Regions from separate parts of the Homo sapiens genome. Here region 2 is linked to region 1. Evidence: promoter capture Hi-C in human tissues and cell types (Jung and others, 2019). All regions are on one chromosome and are shown on one strand. Each heading gives the region's core, a stretch centred on a gene start or on the middle of the fragment in contact. The rest is flanking DNA. Distances are from core to core; before and after follow the strand shown.

Region 1 (7,611 bases), core at 3,429-5,928:
AGATGGGGTAGAAGAGAGAGAGAGGGAGAAGATGACCTGCTAAATTTATGGGGATCAGCAGGGCTCTGAAGTGTTTAGAAATGTCATTTATTGCTGAATTTCCTGTTGTGAAGCAATGTTGTATTATATCTTATAGTCTATTGTTTAATTCTGTCCTGAATCTTGAAATGTCATTTAACTTTAATTTATATCATCACATCATATAGAGTATGTTGAATCAAGACTACTTTCTTGAAAAAAAAAAAGAAAAGATTGAAAATTGAAATCATGTGATTTCGTAAAGTGCTTATAATGTTTCTGACAAACTCTCTAAGGATACGAAACCCTTTACTGAAAGGCATTTTTATATGAAGGCATTTCAATCTCCCACAGGCAGGCATTATTTTGAAGGAATGCTACATTTTATTTCCTAAAATGATGTAAAATGTGATTTTATTGTATTCCTTCTTATTTAATTTGCAGCTTTCCCTTTCTTTAGTTCCATAATGTTTAACCAATGTCTCTTAAAGTGTATAGGTCATCACATACATTGCCAGAAAGAAATCAGATAAAAATATAAAGAAACTGATGAAAATAAAGCACTTTCATTCTTAAAAAAATCAAGAGTTACTTTTTTGTGAGAAGTTGCATTGATAAGAGAGTTAAGCAAAAGTTGTATTAATAATTTTTAAACAGGTCAGATTATTTCAACTCATCATTGTTAATATTTCATTAAGAATAATACATTCCCAGAAATCTACAAATTTAATGTGATGGGTCTTATTTTTTGACAATATGTGTCTACAGTTAGTTCAAGTGAGTGATGACAAGAAGGTATGGGAAAAGCAAAATGGACTTATACGCTTTAGGTGCCCTTCTATTCAAGAAAGACAGGAGAAATGGATTATAAAAGGGCTCAAGGGCTCATACTAAAATGTCAAGTGAGGTGAGACTGCTCTACAGTCAGAAAAGAAGAGGGCACAGGCGACCCAGAGCTGATATTGTTATCTTAGAAAACAGGCATTGCTTGGTAATTGTTTGAAATTGTTTCTTGTTCTTATGCATGAAAAAAAAATCTGTAATTTTGAAGGTTGAACTTATTGGGGTAAATGCAGAAAATTATATGAATGCTCCGTGAATATCATCCAAAGGTTTCAACTAGAAAGGAAAAAGGCAGATTTTCTTTTAAATTTAGGACTTGTATTTTTTCTGTAGATTTCAGATTATTGTAATTATGACAAAACAATATATTTTTGTGAACTCATTGGTCTGTGTAAGTGTCAAGAAAAGATAAATAGATTTGTCTGTGCTAACTTTCAGTTTTTCAAATATGCATCTATAGTGTCATTCCGAGAACGCTTCTTTTTACTACTTAAAATATCATAATATGAACCATATATTGTACTTAGTATAACGCTTAATCAATTTTACCATTGCTCAGTATACGTTTAAGAAGGATGAGGAAATGTTTCTTGCTACTTGGTTTTTAACTTCAATCTATTCCAGACATGACTGTTAAATACAATATGGTTAGTAAGTTGTCTCTTTTGAAACCCTATTCCAGATAATATGTTGGGTTAATTGAAAGTAGAGTTTTCAAACATAGACCTGAAATTTAGAGATCAAATATCTGCATAAAATTACTTATAATTGGCATAAATAATTTTACTGTTTTTCTATTTATAATTTCAGTATTTTACAAGTACTTCTAATGTGACAGCAGTATTAGAATGTAATTTGCATAGTAGAAATCAGAATATAATATGGCTAATGCTTTTAATACCCAAGGGCTACACTAGAGATAGTTGGGTTTGCATCACTGGTTTGTATTAATTGCTTACTATGAAACACTATTACTGATAATAACACTTAACAAGAATATGGTTCACTTTGCTGCTGATTCAGCATCATCAGAGCCAATACTGCTGCTGTGCTGCAGCCTAGTGGAATGATTTGGTATAAAAATGACATATTCCAGTAAGACGTGTTATCACTTACTGCAAAGTAGGTTAAGAGACATAGGAAATCAGTCATAAGCACAGAAATCCCCCAGATAGTATATACTTTGCCTCAGTTATTTGCTTATATAAAAAATTAAGTAAAGGTCAAGAAATTCACCCTATTTTTTATGCAAGATTCATATATTTTGGAATTAACCTTTCCAGTTTCAAGTAGTCTATTTTTCAACAAGAAAAAAAACATACCTCTTCCAGATTACACTAACTTTGTAAATAACGTGTCAGAAATATCACTCTAAATTAAAATCAGTTTTGTATCCTCTCTTTTTCTTTTTTAAAGAAAATCCCAGTGTGGGTAAAAATCTAACAATGAAATATTAAATTGATTACCTGCATAGCACTGTTCTAATTAATAAACAGTTTCTATAAACATCAAGGAACATCACCTAGAGCATTAATCAGGTACCAAACAATTTAACCATTGACTTCACACATATGCATATGTAGGTGGATGCTCATACAGTTTACCTTCTTTTTTCCCATTTCCCAGAGATTTTGGTTTTGTTTGTTGTTTTTTTTCCCCCAAACCTTTAAGTGTATGAAATTCTATTCTTTGATTGAAGTCAGGGAAGGCGTATGCATTCACCAGAGAAGTCAATTTGTTCACAGCAAGTATTTGAAACCCAAGAAGTATCTGATTTAATGAAAGCAGACATTGACTCACACTTTAATAACACAGCCAAAAAAAAAAAAAGTGAAAGAAGTATTTCTTTATATTTTTATCATCAGAATGGGTTTGCATCTGACGTGTCCCTAAGGCACAGATCCACGCTGTTTACACCTGTGCACTCTCCAGTCTCTTCACCACATCCCTCCCCAAATAAACCATTACTTCCTTATGCATTGCACATTGAATACATATGTGCCACATTTAGTACACTCGGGGGAGCGGGGTGCAGATTATCTATGCGACTTAGCATTTACCTGTGTTTCTAGGACATAACCTCTTTCTTTCTTCTTCATCACTTTTAACTAAAAATGAACATACGGCTCTGTCAATGACATAATGTTTTCATGAAAGTTCTACTAATTAAAAATCCTCACCATACCAGACCTAAAAAATGAGCACACTCTTGCCAAGTGTTATTCACCACAGAGAAGCTCTTGTAGCTACGTTTTAAAGGAAGATAGAGAGGGGGATGGTATGGAGGGAGAAAGTCTACTAACATATGCATTGAAGTATAACAGTTGTCAACATCAGAAGGACAGATTATTTTTAATACAGATCCTTCAAGAAAAAAAAAAAGAGGAGAAAAAATAATGTATCTCCAAAGAGCTGAGAAGTAATGGATGTGCAGTTTTGGATAATAGAAGCTTTCACTGGAATGAAGGAATGAAGGACCACAATTATAGGAAACATCTGTTTTTTCAAAGCAAAAGATGATAGGTCATTTTTAAAACAATATTTGTCTTTGTACCTGTAGACTCCCCTTTTTTCATAATAAGGAGACAGTAGGTTTTTATTTTAGTGGCATAAAAACAATTTCAGACTACTGCTTTTGCCCATAGTTACAGTGCTATCAATAGTTACTTGTTGGGGACATGCATTTATACTTGCAATATGCTGCATTAATTTAACAACACATAAAATATGGATTTTATTGCAGCAGAAACAATAAATGCTGCAACTGCTGACTACATGCATTTACTCTCCCTCTCTTTACCTCTCTCCCCCCAATACTTCTGACTCAGATATAAAATTGAAAATAAGAATTCTGCCTATTCTATTTCTGATGAATGTCAATCTATTGTATTTATGTAGATGCTTAGTGACCATTGACAGTTTCAAGGAATCTGTCTTCTGCCTGTCATTTCTGTTTATATTGAACGTACAATGAACTATGACTACGAATAAGTGCAGAGTGAATCCATTCATATGGAATGCAAAGTAATGTTAGATGATGTTAGAGTTCACAGTAACAATGTTATCTCTTGAACTGATTTTTAAAATAAAAATGAACAAGTCTGGGCATGACAAATTCACTTCATAACATATTTTTTAGCATTTGTTCCAAGTGAATGAATTCACAAACTCTAATATCATGACCCACTGTTGAGCATAATATATAATTTATCCAGCTTTACATTGCCTATATAGATATTCGAAGCAGTTGTTTCTAGAATTAAATATATAGAGTTGTATGCTTATTTAAGTATTAAAGATAATTATTTTGAAATAATTGCTAAACACAACTTAAAAACAAACATTTATCTCCTCCCTCTCCCCCCCCACCCCTCAAGTGGAGGAATATATAATACCTTAACGGAGTTAAAAGAAAGAGGTGAAGTCTTCCTACCTTTTTTATCAGCTTCTGGATAATGGAAGTTGGTTCCAGCCAAAATAACCCAGGAGAAATTGTCACTATGTCCCCTTTTTGTTTGTTTTCGGCTGTTATTTTCTATCACTGATTCTACTTCAATCTAACTCAAGCTCTTTCTCAGCATCACTTTTAACTCTGGACAGCAGGGAACCGAAGAAAACGGGGGCGAGCTCTCTCTGATTGGCTTTCATTCAGTGCTTCTGATTAAGGGGAAAGGAAAAAAAAAAAAAAGGAAAGGGGGGAAAAAAGCTCTTCCTCACACGGAGAGAAAGGTTCTGCTGATAGAGCTGCAGCACTCGCCATGGGAAGGTTAGAGACTGTGGAAGTGCTGGCTTCTGCGAGCACACAGCGATTTGCAAGTGAATGCGAGGGGAGGGCGCATCCGAGAGGAGGGCTTTGCTTGAAAGGCGTCCCCTCCCCCGCAGGGCAGAAAGACTCTCTGTTTCAAGGCTAAGGTAATCAGCCCAATCTAATCCGCCTGTGTCCGTAATACAATCTCAGGAACAGGACTGCTTCTTGCAATTTTTTTTAAAAAAAGATAGTTCTTCTGGAATATATATTCCTGCACCGTCCTTACACCAGACTACCGAAATCCAAGTATTATCAGAGCGCCAAGTCAAATTGCAACCAGATTTGATATGTTACCAGAGTGATTTTTCGTTGTGATTTTAAATGTTTATTTTTTGCTTTCAGGGAACTTTCTCGGCTTGATTTTCCAAATCCCTTCTCTTGTTGCTTATTGTCACAGGAGTGCATACCTCGCTCATCATTTTGGAATGTCCGCGAGCCAGTCTTCTCTGCCTAATCTTTGCATTTTAATACTTTATAGATAAAATATTTTATTAAAAATGTAAATATGTAATTAGTGTTATTAAAATATTTAGACTTTGAACTTGACACAGTCTCCTTTTTTTTCTTTTTAACGTTGTTTTTTCTCATAAATACGGGTTTCATACCCAAATGAGTGTGTGGACAGATGTAAATACATTTGGATTGTTCTATCTACTTAAACATCTAACTGTCTCGCTATTTATCAATCTCCACATCAAATTGCAATCAACCAAACCTTACCAAAGGATGTCAGTATAGCTCCACAAAGTAATTAACATCTTTGCATTTTTCCGGCTACAGGTAGATTCCTTTTAAAGTGCCATCCATAAATAAATTATATACACATATACATACATATATGCATATAAATACATATATGTCAATTATAGTTTTAAAGCTAGAGGAGAAATTACGAAGATCATTTTGGGCTGTTATTATTATTATTTCTTTAGCAGATAAAAATGCTCAGAATGTTAAATTGTCACAGGACTAACTGGAGGCGGGGTCAAAGCTGTAATACCACACTCCTACTTCCAGTTTAGTATTGTTTCCGGTTGCCATACTGCCTCCTCTGTACCTGTTTGATCATTCTAACAGTCAACAGGCCCCTTACATAATCAGCACAATGAAAAAGGAAGAAACTCAATCTGAGGGGCAAAAAAGAAGTGAGAGGGAGATTCAAAATTAGATTCCAAAAAGGTTTTAATGTATCACAGTGTTATTATATGATGAATTTTACCAATTAGTTTTATATTTGAAAACACCAAACATTTCCACTGAGCTGAACAGCTAAATGACATTTAGAGCAGAAATGGACTTTTGAAACTCTTAATTTTACAGACGATGGCATTAAGATCAGGAAAATTTTATGGCCCCTCTAAAGTTTGATAATAATAGAGCTAGAATTCTGAATTATCACCGTATCATTTGCCCATAGTTTTTGTTATGTTTTGTATGTTTTCTTCGACAGGGTGCCTTAATTTCAGAGTCAAGTGAAAATAGATATTCAGTTTTTTACCTCTGATACGTATATTTGTGTGTATTTGTGTTTGCCTGGTATATGTGTGTATTCAATATAATACTGTTATTGACATGTTAAATTAGCTATCAAGAGAAATTTATAATATTTAATTAAATGCAGCAGGTTAGGTACACACACACACATTGTTCTCTTATTAAATTAACTATTTCCATATGTTTGTTTAGTGCTAATTTCAAAATGTATGACTACATAATGTGAAGAATTTGGGGGTTACATTTAAATGGGTCGAGAAAATAACCAAAGGCTAAGATCTGAGGTAAATTGCTATTTTATTAATTAGAATACATGTTGAAATGATGTATTCCCAAAATAACATTTTCTGAATTATATAGTTTATGCTTCTCTTACATAGGTTTTTGGTTGGTGTGTTTATTCTGCCCTGTCTAGTCATCAGAAACTCAGCTTCCTTCTGTCTTGATGCTCAATGTTTTTAAGGAATTGAACTCATTTATATGATCCAGGAGAGATCACCACACATCTACCTTCTAGAAAAAGGAATAAAAGGAACAAGAGAAAGTTGCTCCCGTCCTTTGAAAAATGTGACCCTGAACATGTACATGTCACTTTCATGATCTCATTGGGTGGAATTTAGACACTTGGTCACACATTGTTGCTAGGGAGGCTGGGGATGTGGTATTTACTCTCACTATTTGCCCAGCTAAAGTCACTGGTGCTATTAGGGAGGTGACAGAATTGGGTACAAACAGCAGGATTGTCTATTATATTCATGTATTATAGAGTAGTATATTTGGTATAATGTACTTTTTTGGAGAAAAGCAAATTTTTATTCTAGTTTAAAATTAAAATTATGTTATAATGCTAGTGAAAGGTATCTATACAAAATAACGTTAATAATATTTTAACATTTATGAAACAATTGTCAGTTATTGCATTTTTTCTTTTTTTGATCAAGTAATATAATTAATAAATAATAGGCAAAGCATCCATGTATTCCAAAGTTCAGGGGATCTAGTTATAGATGTGAGAGAATGAAGAGGAAAACATTTGAACAATAAATGAATTAAACCCATTCACATTTTTCTTAATGCTCATCTTAGAAAGACTCTATATCTGAGATCAAATGCCATCCTATCGAATATACGCCCTAGTAATTAAAATTAAAATAAAGAATAAACAGAACATTGACTAAAATGTAAAACTTCTGACAATGGGTTTTGTTTTATTAAACAATATTATTTTTCATTTTCTTTATTTCACAATATAAATGAGTTAACTTAGGATTCTGCAAGTTTTTCTATTTCTTTATAATTTTCCCTCCAAATCTTATGTGAAATAGTCTTGTGAATTAGATAGGGTTTTCCTGTTGTTACCAATATCAGGAAACTGGTAGCACGTGGGAAGTGAAATGAATAAATGAAATGTAAAAGGGACAGTAAACTCTCAATGAAATGAATGGGTC
Region 2 (7,611 bases), core at 3,174-5,673, 1.7 Mb after region 1:
AATAAACTTATCTTAAGTTTAAAATATTATAATTCAGACATGTATTTATACAAATAACCTACTGAGCATCATAGCTTAGCTTAGCCTACCTTAAATATGCTCATAATACTAACATTAGCCTACAAAATGTTAAGCTAGATAAGAAAAATTATCTAACATAAAGCTTATTTATAAAGTATTGAAAATCTCATGAAATTTATTTAATATTTTACTGAAAGTGAAAACAGAATGGTTATAGAGGTACTTGTATGGTTTCTACTGAATGTGGTTTTTGCACCATTGTCAGGTAGAAAAATAGTAAGTTGAACTATCATAAGTTGGGACCATCTTCATATAAATTCAATAATTGAAAGTTATCAAACACACACACAATGTAAGAGGGGTATGGTTTTCAAATTCTAAGATGGGAAACGTACAAACTCCCCCTTCTGATTATTTCCTAAGTAATTTATTCTTCTGAAAAATTTACAAAGTATTTTAGAATTTCAAATAGATGTTCTTTCTATAAGTACCTTAAGATCAACAAATCGAAATAGTTATAATTTATGTATTTACGTCATGGGATACTTGGGGTGTTGCTTTGCCAGCCAGAAACCTCTGCGGTCAGTGGCACCTTTGCCTGAGTTTTGCTTGGCCCCGCGGGGCTTGGTCCACCCACTTGGCCTGGCAGGTCGCACTTGGCTTGCGCTACTGGCCTGAATCCAATGCCCACCAAAGGTGAGCCAGGCACAGAGTGGCGAAGGGTGTATGAGCGAGCGCAGGGTCTGGCCACTGCGCACATCCAGGCATGCCTGCTGCAGTGGGGTGGAAGCTCCAGGTGCAGGCATGGGCACCAGCTCCCTGCAAGGTTGCTGCTGGACCAGCCGTACCTCAAACACCTTTCACAGTTGGCACCAGAGAATGCAGTGGCGCCAAAACCTTGGAATCACCAGTAACCACAGAACCCCAAAGAGGGTTTCACAGCCCTGGTGAGAGGTGACAGCGTGCTGGCAGTCCTCACAGCCCTCGCTCGCTCTTGGCGCCTCTTCTGCTTGGGCTCCCACTTTGGCGGCACTTGAGGAGCCCTTCACCCCACCACTGCACTGTGGGAGCCCCTTTCTGGGCTGGCCAAGGCCAGAGCCGGCTCCCTCAGCTTGCAGGGAGGTGTGGAGGTAGAGACGTGAGCGGGAACCGGGGCCGCGCGCGGCGCTTGCGGGCCAGCTGGAGTTCCGGGTGGGCGTGGGCTTGGAGGGCCCCGCACTCGGAGCAGCCGGCGGGAGTAGCCGGCGGGAGCAGCCGGCGGGAGCAGCCGGCCGGCTCTGCCGGCCCGGGGCAATGAGGGGCTTAGCACCCGGGCCAGCGGCTGCGGAGGGTGTACTGGGTCCCCCAGCAGTGCCAGCCCACCAGCGCTGCGCTCGATTTCTCACCAGGTCTTAGCTGCCTTCCCGGGGGGCAGGGCTCGGGACCTGCAGCCAGCCATGCCTGAGCCTCCCACCCCCTCCATGGGCTCCTGTGTGGCCCAAGCCTCCCCAGTGAGAGCAGCCCCCTGCTCCATGGCGCCCAGTCCCATCGACCACCCAAGGTCTGAGGAGTGCGGGTGCCCAGTGTGGGACTGGCAGGCAGCTCCACCTGCAGCCCCGGTGCGGGATCCACTGGGTGAAGCCAGCTAAGCTCCTGAGTCTGGTGGGGCCTTGGAGAACCTTTATGTCTAGCTCCGGGATTGTAAATACACCAATCGGCACTCTGTATCTAGCTCAAGGTTTGTAAACACACCAATCAGCACCCTGCGTCTAGCTCAGGGTTTGTGAATGCACCAATCCACACTCTGTATCTAGCTACTCTGGTGGGGCCTTGGAGAACCTTTGTGTCCACACTCTGTATCTAGCTAATCTTGTGGGGACGTGGAGAACTTTAGTGTCTAGCTCAGGGGTTGTAAACGCACCAATCAGCACTCTGTCAAAACAGACCGCTGGGCTCTACCAATCAGCAGGATGTGGGGGCCAGATAAAAGAATAAAAGCAGGCTGCCCCAGCCAGCAGTGGCAACCCGCTCGGGTCTCCTTCCACCCTGTGGAAGCTTTGTTCTTTCCCTGTTTGCAACAAATCTTGCTACTGCTCACTCTTTGGGTCCACACTGCTTTTATGAGCAGTAACACTCACCGCGAAGGTCTGCAGCTTCACTCCTGAGCCAGCGAGACCACGAACCCACCAGAAGGAAGAAACTCCGAACACATCCGAGCATCAGAAGGAACAAACTCCAGACACACCACCTTAAGAGCTGTAACACTCACCGCGAGGGTCTGCGGTTTCATTCTTGAGGTCAGTGAGACCAAGAACCCACCAATTCCGGAAGCACTGGCTTGGGGATTTCCCAGGTCTGAGCTCCCTGTAGGGCTGCAGCTCTTCTTTCCTTCTCTCTTCTCTCCTTCTTGTCACCCACAACGTGGCAAGCAAGGGGCATGTTTCAGCCCTGTTTGTGTCTCATTTCTCTTAACCCTGCCAGTAGGCAGTGCCGGAGTTCTTGTCCTGCACCCAGGAAGAATGAAGTACGCAGACAAGTGGAGGGTGAGCAAGGCAATGAGGAGTTTTATTGAGCAGCTCAGAGGAGACCCACAATGCATAGCTCCTCTTTGCTGTCAGGGTGACCCAAAGAATGTTCAACTCTGAGCAAAGAAGAGACCCTGGAGTGGGTGGTTCATCTCCACAGCTTGCCATCCTGTCATGTCCTCAAGTATGGCTCAGTTCAGGGCTTTTATGGACCTCAGAGGGGAGGAAGTGCATGCCGATTGGTCCATGGGTGGCCATGGTGGGCCCTGAAAAAACCCCACAAGTCCCCATTCTAGTCCGCAGGACCCGCAGCCTGCCCTGGGATTCAAGTCCTCCCAGCTTGAAGGTGGAGCTTTATTAGGGACACGTCCCCTTCCACCTAGGAGCCTGTCTGTCTCTTGCCGCTGTTCATGGAGCCCAGGCTGTTTACGTGAAGCGGCACCTGCAGTACAGCACTGAGCTGCCCTTCACCTCCCCTCAGCTTCCCTCACATGCTCATCAGCACCCAAAGTCCGGCGGGGGCGACATAGCGGGGAGCTTGCGTGTCAGCGCTACCCCAAACATGTGTACACCCGGCCAGGCTGTGAAAACACCTGGATTCAGGACCAACCTCCCTTCAAGATTGGTGCCAGGAGCTGGAAGAAGTCAGGCAATGGGAGCAGACATCTCTGAGCCTGAAAGTGGGGCAGGGTACAGAGATGCCCGGGTCCGCAGCCGTGGCTCTATAGCTGTACCCAGGAGGGTGAGGCTACCGCTTGATATCAGCTCCCGCCCGCTCCATGGAGCATGCAGCCCAGCCACACCTACCCCACTGCAGCTGGTGTCTTGGCAGCAGCCACTGCTCATTGCTGCCATCATTTACATTATAGCAAATCACTTAATAAACATTTACTAAGTGGTATCTATATGCTAAACATTATCCTTTGTTGTTGTAGATTTATCAGAACAGATATTATCCTTAAAAACTTAACATGTATAGGCCAAGCGCGGCGGCTCACGCCTGTAATCCCAGCACTTTGGGAGGCTGAGGCAGGCGGATCACAAGGTCATGAGATTGAGACCATCATGTCTAATACGGTGAAACCCCGTCTCTACTAAAAATACAAAAAATTAGTCGGGTGTGGTGGCAGGTGCCTGTAGTCCAGCTACTCAGGAGGCTGAGGCAGGAGAATGGCGTGAACCAGGGAGGTGGAGCTAGCAGTGAGCCGAGATCATGCCACTGCACTCCAGCCTGGGCGACATAGCGAGACTTGGTCTCCAAAAAAAAAAAAAGAGAAAAAAAAGAAGAAAACCTTACATGTATATACACAATTCACATTCACATGCATTGGTACACACATGCACGTGCTCGTGCACACGCACGCACACAATGTAGAGGAGTCAAAAGAGAATGAGAAGAAAATTCCACCGTAAAAAAATGTGAAAATAATCCGAGAATGAAAACTGATAATGTCTATTGAATTTAGCAACATGAAAGTCAATGATAACCTTAGGGATAAAAATGTAGGTTTATTGATGTGTTGTAAGTGTTATGAAAGGAAGATCATGAGTATAGAACTTAAGAGGAAAGAAATGGGCTAGTAACAGGAGAAAAAAGTGTGAGATATAAACAGACACTGTTATTGTGTTTGTATGTTTTCATATGTTTTGCTTTTTATTTTATCAGGAAAGACTAGAGTACACTTCAATATGTGGATGTAGTTAAATTGTAAAAATAAGGCACTGAAAATACATTTGAGATAGGATACGATATGTGCCTGGCTCCATATTCTCTCTCTTTCTCTCTCCTCCTTTTTTTTTCTTTTTTAAAATTTGAGACAGAATGTTACTCTGGAATAAGTGGAGTGCAGGCTGGAGTGCAGTGGTGTGAACACAGTTCACTCCAGCATTGACCTCCCATGTTCAAATGATCCTCCCATCTCGGCCTCCCAAGTAGCTGAAACCATAGCTGTATGCTGCCACTCCTGCCTAATTTATTTTTTACTTTTGTAGAGATGGGGTATTGCTATGTTGCCCAGGCTTGTCTTGAACTTCTGTGCTCCAGTGACCAGCCTCAGCCATAACATCTTTTCCTAATGAAATCCATGGTCTCCCACTTAATTAGTGCATTGAGGAAAAAGCTTACAAAATTATTTGTTTTCGCAGAGAAGTTCCTCCTCCATTCTTCATTCTACTCTCAATTGTCATAATGGAATTTACTGTAAGTAAGAAATACTAGATTATTGTGAACAGAAATAACCCACTTCAAATTTCCTATTTTGTAAAGGCAATAAGATAAAAATATAGAATTCACTAATGCTAACTTAATTATTGATTGATGAATTGCATCCATGTATGTTACGATCTAAATGTTGAGAACTGTGAAAAAGAACGAAGATTTCTAAAGAATAAACTTCTGATGTGAGATAGTGAAGGTATCAGAGGAAAATGAAATATGACATCATGAAGCAAAGACAAATTATTCCTGGAAACTAGCAAAATAAGATATGCCGTAGCCCTGAAAGTAAATAGCTGAATCTCTGATCTTGGAAGTAAAAGAAAGAGGCAATGCTTAAAATTTGATTATTGACTTATACTCAGATTACCTAATTTAATGGGACTGAATCCTTAATTGATTATGCTATTTCAGTACCTACTCTAAATGATAAAACTCTTCACCTTCCCTCACTTTATACTCAGTTTATTATGTTATTAAATTATTCAACATATTTACTAGGTATCTAACTTGTATTACTCTGCAAAGGCCTACAGATAATAAATATGGTTCCCTTTGTGAGGGCATTTAATACTTGGCAAGAAACATGCATATATGCTATAAGCTGCAATAAAACTTGCTACGTGTTATTGCAGATCTTACTTACATAAATGTGCATGGGAACAAAGAGAACCGGCAATTATATACCTAGGGAGTTGGGGGATGATTTATTGAGAAGGTGGCATGTAGAGGTTTCCTGAGAAGTAAGTAAGAAAATCTTCACGTCCATTAAGAATGAGGGAGATTGATTTTTCTAGGGAGAAGAAGTAGTTAATTCAATAGCATGGAACACGAATTGGGCAAGGAGAAGCAAGGATGATAAGTCATCTTCTGTTGTGCATTTTAAGTGCTCACTAGAGGAATTGGCATGTAACATAATAAACTATCACATGGTAAAAACATGCATAATATGCTCAAATCACTCATATATTTATGTTCTCAAGTAGAATATGCGTTTCTAAATTGTGCCCCTTTTTATTGTGGGAATCATCCATTATGTATCAATAGTGTCATTAGTGCTTCCTTCTAAGGATATTTTAACCATCATATTATAGCTAGTCTACTAAAGAGGCCAGAGCATTCTCACGAGTCTTGTAAGTTTTTAAGAGAAATAAATAAATTGAGCCTGAACAATGAATCTAAAAATGAAATATGTTCCTGCTAGAAATGGATAACTTCATATCATCATTCATCTGTTCATTATTTCATATTTATTCCTTTTATTTAGTCATGTCTTCAGTGCATGATTTTTTTTTAAAGTTTTCTATCTGCCAATGTATTATGCTACAGTCTGTGAATAAAACAATTAACGAAACAGACTTAGTCCCTACCTCACAAGGTTTATATTTGAAAGGAGGTAGTGAATATGCATTCAGTCAACCTTGACAAAATTAATTATTCAATTAAAATTGTGTTGAATGCTACAAAGGAGAAGTGCATGTTGTTTTAGGAAAGCATAAGTGGAACTAAACTTGCTAAACAGTCAGGGAATTTTTTTTCCCTCAGGAAGATAAAACAGAGATTGGAATTACTGTGAGAGAATACAGTTCCTTCTGCAGCTGATGTTATTAATATTATTTCAAATTAATTATCGGAGCATTTTATCTTCCATATGCCTGATCGCTATTCACTTTAGCTATGTTTAGTCATCAATTTCCAACACTTTAAAAAGTAACTGTAGTCGTAGTTTGAGATTCACTACCACTCCCTCCTCTTGCCTGACATCTAGTGGAAGAGAGAATCAGTGGGAAAATCACCCAGAGGAATTAAAAATAGAGACCAAGCAGTAAAGAAAAATAGCAAAGGAAATATCCTCTTGAATCACTATATTTTAAGAATGGGTGATAGTATACACATTTCATTGTTATACAACTATTATATGTGCTTGAACTATATATTCAATCCTAATTTTAATATATTTTTCTATAAAATTCCCGAGTAATTGGCTAACAATACTATTCACTGATATTGCATCACTGGCAGAAAAGTAGCTTTCTCCTCATTAAGGCTTTCTTCTTTCACTAATCTTGAAACATAAGATGCATATATGCAGAATATGCACTCAAATTAGCTCATTCCAGCTTTCCCTAGAATGTGAGTACACTCTTTAATGATGTTTAAATTTTCTATAAAGTCCAATTTTCAAACTCATACAAATGAGAGTAAATTAGTACATGGGTTTCCAGGTTATGAAGACAGCACTTTGATTCAAACACTAACCAATACACATGCCTTTTACATCACATTACACAACATATCATTGTAGATAAAGTAAAGTAGTAATTGTGAATAGCCTTAAATAATATACTAAAAATTGCTCAGTTCAGTTAAGATTTAATTCCAGGAAAACAGAAGTAGTAGATGACTTTCATAGTTTAATTACCAATAGCTCTATTTGCTCTGAACAGTCCATTATTTTGTGTGTGTGCATTTGTGTGTGCATGTGTGTGTGTTTGTGTCTGTGTGTGAGCATGATGGTGTATCTTTTATATAGTTTTCAAGTTTCTCTCGTAAAACTAATACTATAAGAGGTTATTTCATTTTTCTACACAATGAGGTAAAAATAAAACTCAAAAAGATTGAGATATGAATATATGATTATCTTCCTTAGGCAGGCTCACAGTGATTAGTAAAATAGCAAATATATTTCCTTTGGGAAGTTTAAAAGTACATCTTTAATCTCCTTTCCACTTTATATTTTATTTTCTCTGACTTCAGTTCTTTAGAAAATTTTCCTCCTTTTGCCTTTTTTGAAGGTATGTTTTATTGTTTTCTACTGTTTGTGTTTATTTTGACATTTTTAATGTTATTGTTTGTTGCTTTTTGAAAAAG

Evidence for each region. The method cuts DNA at HindIII sites, captures the fragments that hold promoters and counts their contacts. A contact is called where the count stands out against the background at its distance.
Region 2: a fragment that was not itself captured here is called in contact with the fragment with the promoter of CDH10 in region 1 in 1 of the 25 tissues and cell types used here (dorsolateral prefrontal cortex).

Annotation. Positions count from the first base shown.
Region 1 is chr5:24,640,300-24,647,910 of GRCh38, forward strand. CDH10 (cadherin 10) reads right to left here and starts at 4,679. Exons shown (of 12, transcript NM_006727.5): 1 at 4,295-4,679. LOC124901174 (a long non-coding RNA gene) reads left to right here and starts at 4,410. Exons shown (of 2, transcript XR_007059125.1): 1 at 4,410-4,773; 2 at 5,012-5,215. RefSeq lists an enhancer at 4,376-4,971. The HindIII fragment of the contact is 10,153 bases long and covers 1-7,611 here.
Region 2 is chr5:26,323,271-26,330,881 of GRCh38, forward strand. No RefSeq gene overlaps it. Among named protein-coding and RNA genes, the nearest start is that of TRK-CTT9-1, 130 kb to the left of the region's middle. The HindIII fragment of the contact is 6,629 bases long and covers 1,110-7,611 here.